Linked DNA regions of Homo sapiens: region 1 is linked to region 2. The links are contacts of gene promoters, found by promoter capture Hi-C in human tissues and cell types (Jung and others, 2019). All regions are on one chromosome and are shown on one strand. Each heading gives the region's core, a stretch centred on a gene start or on the middle of the fragment in contact. The rest is flanking DNA. Distances are from core to core; before and after follow the strand shown. Region 1 has its middle 60 kb from the start of LINC01377. Region 2 holds the start of IRX2 (iroquois homeobox 2).

What was found. The method cuts DNA at HindIII sites, captures the fragments that hold promoters and counts their contacts. A contact is called where the count stands out against the background at its distance.
Region 1: a contact is called between a fragment that was not itself captured here and the fragment with the promoter of IRX2 in region 2, in 1 of the 25 tissues and cell types used here (H1 embryonic stem cells).

The regions. Positions count from the first base shown.
Region 1 is chr5:3,115,772-3,119,239 of GRCh38, reverse strand. No RefSeq gene overlaps it. Among named protein-coding and RNA genes, the nearest start is that of LINC01377, 60 kb to the left of the region's middle. The HindIII fragment of the contact is 3,440 bases long and covers 352-3,468 here.
Region 2 is chr5:2,750,358-2,754,205 of GRCh38, reverse strand. IRX2 (iroquois homeobox 2) reads left to right here and starts at 2,529. Exons shown (of 4, transcript NM_033267.5): 1 at 2,529-3,041. The coding sequence starts at 2,793. IRX2-DT (IRX2 divergent transcript) reads right to left here and starts at 2,313. Exons shown (of 4, transcript NR_122126.2): 1 at 1,742-2,313; 2 at 1,452-1,526; 3 at 851-921. RefSeq lists an enhancer at 1,490-2,414. The HindIII fragment of the contact is 21,259 bases long and covers 1-3,848 here.

The DNA.
Region 1 (3,468 bases), core at 822-3,321, 370 kb before region 2:
ATGGAAGCTAAGCTTTGTTAATTTCCAAGTAGTTAAACTTGGAATTACTTGTCAATCTTGGAAACACGGACCCCCAATCCAAGGCCTATCACACATTCTGTTTATTTTTCTGCTAATGAAAAGTGTGACAAGCAAATAATTAAACTGAAAAGAGAGCATAAATTAGAGTCTACAGCTACAGAACAGATCGCCTTTTGAAGACTGCATTTTAAAAGATGTGCTTCGGGAGAACACTCACTCCAGTCATTTGAATTATCTGGCTTAAACTGTATGTGGTTCTTCTGTAAGATGGTTTATCCCATTTCATCAAATAGAATGTTTGATGTACCTCGGCATAACAAATTATTTGTGTTGGATTTATTTCAGCGAATTCCCCTTCTCCTTCTGGTTTCAAGAGAGTAAGCCCTGAGTTTCTAAACATTATGAAAACAACCAGATCTCAGAGACATTATATCCACAACAAAGGGAAATGAGTGACCAGCCCAGTTGCATTGTCTTTTGAACAACAAGTCAATGCAGACAGAAGTAAATGACAGTTAATTACAAATTACGTTCTGGTTGGGGCTGCGCGGGCCTCTCGCCCGGCGTAGCGCTCAGGCCCCGGGGCGCTCACCTGCCTGCCGAGGGCCTTGCGGAGACCTGGGTTGGGGTGCCGCACAGCCTTCAAAACAAGCTGCTAAACACAAAAGCTTATTGGATTACAGAGATTTAGGAAAAGACATTCAGATCTCTCCGGGCAACTGCAGAAGGAGGGTGGAGGGGGTGCTGGAGGACGGATCACTGCAACTTTTTGAATGCTGGTCTCTCTTTGCAGGGAAATTGGCCCCGTTGTTTGGCAGTGTTGGGAAACTGGTCCTACCATGGGCAAGCTCCCTTTAGGAAGCACAGCAGTGCTGGGGGCCCATTATAACTTGGCCACCTAACTGCTTTTCAAACAGGGAAAAGTAGACAGTGCTGATGCTATGTTAGATTCGTAATCACATGAATCATGAATTCGGTGATGCACTCAGACTGTTTATTTTTTATCGGGAGGATTGTCATCGCCATCAGCAGACATTTTGATTTACTAAGAATGTTTCACATTTTTAATTGGAACAGTAAATGAATTTATTACATTTTAAGTCAAATTTTAAGTTAATACATTTGCAAAAATAAGACAATGTCGAAAATAATTAATGTCATCATTGGTGCATTAAAAAGACCTTGGCTTTTGTAATTCACTAAAGCAATTTCTATTCATTTAGTTGAGCTAAATGCTTATTGTTAAAGACAAAAGATCCAACAGCTTGACATTGAGCTCATTATGTATGTTAGAAACACTCAGAAACCCAAGGCCACACTACACGCCACACAGCCAAAGACTTGGGGGCGGGGAGCGTTTCCAGGGATTAAAATGCAGACCACGCCATTCTCAATCACTTTCCATTTAGACCTGATTAAAACTTCAAAACGAAGCTTGTTGGAAACATTGGTAGAACAATTTTTGTTGTTGTCTTTAAGTGATGGGGTAATCAGTAAACTCTGGGGAAGTTTAATGGGTCTCTCTCTCTCCCTCTCTCTCTCTCTCTCTCTCTCTCTCTCTCTCTCTCTCTCTCTCTCTCTCTCTCTCGCTCCCTCTCTCTGATAGCTCTAACAGCCCAGATCTCACTCCTTACTCCCAGCTGACTTGCAAAAATATTTGAATTTTTAAAGAAAGCATTCAGAAGCACATGCTGAAAACTGTATCTTTTGGAAGTGCAGCGACGTGCAGAAAATAAACATTCCTCCTTCCCTTAGACAGCATTGATGATGCAGAATGACAGGGACTTACTAGTGTGATGTTGGCATCTCCAGCCCTAGGAGGTGGCTCTCCACTGCATTTTCCACACTATCCCTACACTCAGCCACGGCATAGGCTCCTGTTAACACAGCCATCACAAGAAGTTCCCTTTTGTATGTAGGGAATAAGACATCCTTATTGCACTCCACATTTGGGGGGGGATCAATTACCCTGCCCTCTCCCTGACAGTGTCATAGGTGAGACAAACACTGTAGTTTGCACATGAGTCTCAACACGATAAAAGTTAGATTCAATCCTGCTGAGATAACTTCAATGCTTTCCCCTGCTGCTCATTCTAAAAGAATGCCTGGCTGTTTTGATCACCGAACAAAACAAATGAAGCAATTTTCAAGATACCGTCCAGAATGAGTGTGTGAGCATATTTAAGGTTTCATAAATACCTCCAAAAGGCTACACTCTAAAAGTTTTACCTCCACGCTTCAAAATTTGAAAGGCTGCCTTTTAGAAGTGTTGGTGTTTTCCAATAAAATGCACAGATAGTATATTTCCAGTCTAAAGGACTGAAATTAATTTATGGAGTGATAGGAGTCTTCTGCCTCCTGGATGTGCGATCAGAGTGAGACATCTCAAATCCTGCTGAAAGGACACCTGTAAGAGCTCTTTCCCTAAAATTAGGTAGAAAAATATCTGCCTTCTCCGTGCTTAGGGGAGTGGCCTTCTTATCGGCGGTGGAGTGAAGCTGACTGTAATGACAGTGACAGGCGAGATCCATCGTGTCATCGGCACTGTGAGGGATGGGGCCCAGTCCCGCCCGCCTGCGGATGCTAGTGGAACCCCCAGCCAGGAGGCAGGGAGTACTTAACCCTGCAAGCCCCGGGTTCCCGCTGTGCGTCACCAGGCCTCTGTCTTGTGTGGGAAGCCTACAGGATGACAGCAAATCTATACGGGCCGCGCAATCTGCCCTCGCGACAAGCTCGCGCCAGGCCGCCTTATAACACGATTAAATGGTATCATAAGGGCAGGGCATGCCTTGTGGAGCCATCACAAGAGTTTTGGGGAGACTGTGGCTGCCGTAGGTGCGGGCAGTGCAGGGGGAAGCAGGGAGCACCGTGGACCGGACCAGAGGACTTCTCCGGGGCAGTGACCCCCCACCAGAAGCCTCTAGTTTCCTATGCCAGGGCGATGGCTTTCAGGCTGTCTGCAGTCGGGACAGATTATGTTTGCCCCTATACTGCAAGTTCACTTTGATATGCCTGTGAACATATATGAGATATATATGTGATTATATATATATGAACATGAGGACCAATTTTGAAGATGTCTTCATACATCCTTAGTAGACAAATCGGTGAGATGCAGTAGGGTTGGGAAATGCTATTGAATGCTATGTAGCATGTTTTTCCCGTCCTGGAGAAAAACCTAAATTATGTAAATGGCAGAGATAATAATATGGTAGATGGCATTTTAGGATGCAATCTTGAACTCCTAAGATGTCAAGTGTCTGATTGTGATCTCGGTGCACACACATGTAAAGTGGCATTTCTCCCGCTATTGTGCACTCATATTTCTAGGAGGACTGTTACATTTACAACATGAAATTTAAAAGTTAAAAAAAAAAAGAATGTAAGAGCTTCACGTAAGGCTTTTTCTAGATTGTGTTTTTGTAGTATTTCTGCCTTCTCTTTTGT
Region 2 (3,848 bases), core at 1,280-3,779:
TCTGGAGATGCACCCTGGGTGAGGGGACCCTCCCCGCCACTGCACGTGTCTGGTTATATATTTAATTGATGTCAGAATCGACTGTATCCAGAGCAGACACTCCAGCTCCAAACTGAGGATGTTTGTATAATAACTGGCTGTTTTCTCTTCTGCCCCTGGCAGAGGTCCGGCGGGGGGAGGGGGGTGGGTCAAGGGAGGGGGAGGGAGGATGAGCCCCAAATGCTAATGAAACCACAGCGGGAACCGCTCTTTAGAAATGGAAATACTCCAGGCCAGTGCTCCCTGGTGATAAAAATTACACCCGATTTTTTTTTCATTTAAACTGATCTGATCGTAAAGGAACCCTAAAGGTTGCCATCTGATCTGACAGTGTTTGTGTTTGCCATCCAGCGTGTGGGCCTCTCATTTACCCCTCTTCTTGGAGGAATTCCCTCCCAGGAAGCGCAAAAATGTCGCAGACTGTCGACGGCTTGCCCAACCCGGCTGCTTTCTCTCTCTCTCTGTTTTTCAGCTCTATAGTAATTGATTAAAAATATCTGTCCTGGACTGAATTAGGATGTCCCATGTGGAGTCGCAACAAGGTTGAAACCCCCCGCTGGGTCGTTGCAGGGGGCCCAGCCTGTGGGAACGGGGTGTCTGTGGGTGGAGGGAGAGGTGGTCGTGGGTGTGTGTGCGTGTGCGTGTGTTGAGATGGCCTGAAGAGGATGTGTGCAGGATGGGGGTGTGGTTTGTAGGAAGAGTGGTGGGGGAGCAGTGTGGGCGAAGGGGTGGGTGGGATAACTGGTAGGGGGCGAGTGGCTCGGCTCGGGAGCTCCTGGCGGGAGGGGTAACGTGCCTGGACCGCGCCTACCGGGAGCCTGCCGGCTCAGGAGGAGCCATCCTCAAGCACAGCACTGCAGTTTGCAACTGGTTCCCTTGCACCTGGGGAAAGACAGCCTGATGCCGTGAGTGTTTCTCTTGCGCCCTGGACCAGACTGGCAACCCGGGCTCCGCTCCCTCCGCGCCGCTGCAGCCGCACCACAGGGAGGCCGCAACATGCCCTGCGTCCTGAGATCACTAAGGCTGCTCCGCAGGCTGCAGGGCCAGCAGGGGTGCAGGAGTCGGCTGCAGGCCTGAGCTGAGGCCCGCCCCAGGCCACTGCGCTCTCTCTTCTCCACCGCACCCACCCGAGACGGCTTCCGAGGATAGAGGCACCTGCTGGGTGGGTGCTCCCAATAGGCCAGCACAGACCTGACACTCTTCCATCCCCCTGAGCGCCCCCCATAGGTGACCCTTCGGAGTGGGCAGCCAGACGCCCTCTTCGGCCATCCCCGAGTGGAAAAGGGTTGGAGAAGCGTGATGGGGAGAGGGTTCTAGGAAGCTGGGGTCCTAGGAACCCTCGCCAACCGCCTCGCTTCTGAGCCCCGCAAGGCAACCGCCCCCCTACTCCAGCCGCGCGTCACCTGAGCTACCTGTAATGCCCACTGCACCGGCGGCGCCAACCTGAGCTCCTGCCCGTTCTCGACGTGACTGGGAGGCTTCAGGTCCTGCCAGAGGCGGTTTGTCAGGTAACAATCATCCCCCCAGTGTTTTGACAACACAAATCTGAAAGAGGAGTCAACTTAGAAAAACAAAATAAAATAAAACTCTTTAGGGGACGGCGTCTTCTTAGCTGAAGCCCTGGCGTCATTCCCAACAGTGGAAAGTCGTAACGTTCAGGGCCCCGGGGGTTGCGCTGCGGATTTGGGGGCAGAAAGCTCACCTCAGGGCCCTCCTGGCAATTCGCAACCAAGGCGCCCCGGATCCAGGTCCATGCTGGGCGGAGTGGACCGCGAGGGGTAGGCGACCAGACGCGAGGCCACGCGGGGAGCCTCGGGCCAGGAGGCAGAGCAGGTCCGGGACCGTGGAAGTGAGAGCCGCGCGCACTGCCCGGAGGAAGACCCGAGCCGCGGGCGCCACCATCCTGACCTCCCCACTTCCCTGCGACTTCCGGATTGGACACAGGGGCCGGGCCTCCTCGGGGTGCACAGCGGGGCAGGCTGTGAGTCCCCTAATTGGACCCGGCCTGGCCTGACCGCGGGCGGCCTCTGCCTAGTCCGTGAGGGTGGAGAAGGGGGTGGGGGCGGGGTAGTGGCTGGAAGGGGCGGGGGCCGGGCAGGGGCGAAGACGGTGGCCGGGGACGGTGGGAGCCGGCCGGAGCCGGGCAGGGGACGTGGCTCCGAGTGGATGGGAGTGGGAGGGGTGCGCGCCGGGGCACGCAGCGCGGCCGGGCTGGGCTGCAGGTCCGCGAGCCGCGGGCTGGGGCCGGAGCTGCTAGAGAGGCGGCTGCGCCACAAAAGCCTGCCGGTCCCTCCCGCCGCCCGCCTCCGTCGCCTCCGCCCTCCCCCGCCTCCCTCCCGTCTCTCTGCCCCTCCCCCGGCCGCGGCCCGGAGGCTGCAGCGGGCGGAGCAGGGGAGGGGCGGGCCCCCGAATATGCAGATGAGCGCGTGATGGACAGCTGCGCGTTCCAATGTCCCTCGGAAACTCGAGCGCTCCTTCCTCAACTCCTCACTCCCGACTCCAGACTCCCCCAAACCCCGACCGCCGGCCTGGCGCGCGGCTGCGCCCACCGGCTCCGCGCTGCTGCCGCCGCCACCGCCACCCCGCCGCCGCCCCGGCCCGCGGGCCGCCCAGGCTAGTACCCGGGCCGGCCTGCCTCCGCCGGCCGTCCGGGTGCCCGCCGCCGCGCCGCGCCCCGGCCGGGCGTGGATGGAGGGCGCCGCGCGCCCTGCCCGCTGCTCGGCGTGACGCGGGCCCCGCGCCCCGCGCCCACCATGTCCTACCCGCAGGGCTACCTGTACCAGGCGCCCGGCTCGCTGGCGCTCTACTCGTGCCCGGCCTACGGCGCGTCGGCTTTGGCGGCTCCGCGCAGCGAGGAGCTGGCGCGCTCGGCGTCGGGCTCGGCGTTCAGCCCCTACCCGGGCTCGGCGGCCTTCACGGCGCAGGCGGCCACCGGCTTCGGGAGCCCGCTGCAGTACTCGGCCGACGCCGCCGCCGCCGCCGCCGGCTTCCCGTCCTACATGGTAACCGGGCGCGGGCGGGACGCGGGACTCCTGGGCGCCGGGACCCAGACGGGGCTCAGGCGGAGCGGGGCTCGGGTTCGGCGGGCGGGGGCCGCCGGGAATGTGGCGCGGCTGGCGACTCAGGAGTCGCCGGCTCGGTTGGCCGCCCCGCAGGCTGAGCCGGGCCCCGGGTGGGGAGGGCAGCGCGGCAGGCGGGGACGTCCCTGAGCCCGGCCGGGACCCGCGCGCCCCCCGCGCGTCCCCTCGGCTCGCCGGCTGATTTTCTCTGAGAGCCTGGGAAGTGCGTCTCCGCCGGGGCCGGGGTCTGGCGCCGTTTGTCCCTGGTTTCCGCACCGCAGCCTGGGGAGGCGTTCGGAGCGGGCTGTGTGCTCGCCTGCATTGGCGTGGGGCGCGAGGGTCCGCGTCACTGCGGCCTCTGAGCCGACGGCCGGGCGGTTCGCATTCACTCGCGGGGCTCAGGGCGGTGGGGGTCACCGAGTTAGGCCCAGGAGCCGAGCATTCAGCTGCGGCTCCGGAGTCCGGCCCGAGGCGCCCAGGTTTCGGCCTTACTCTGTCCAGCGGACCATGCTTTCAAATATCGTGCTTGCGGGCGCGTGACCCGCTAAGGGCCGCCTGAGTCCTCCGTGGCCCGAGCGCAGCTCCTGCTCCGGCGACCTGGGGGCGGCTCGCGAGTCTCGAGGTTACTGAGCTGGGCCAGGCCCGGGCCGCGGCGAAGCACGTTACGGGCGATTGAGGCCATTACGGGGTTGTCGCGACTGCCGGCCCTCGGCGGAATTTCTGGGCAGCGACCGAGTCGCTGGGGCCTTG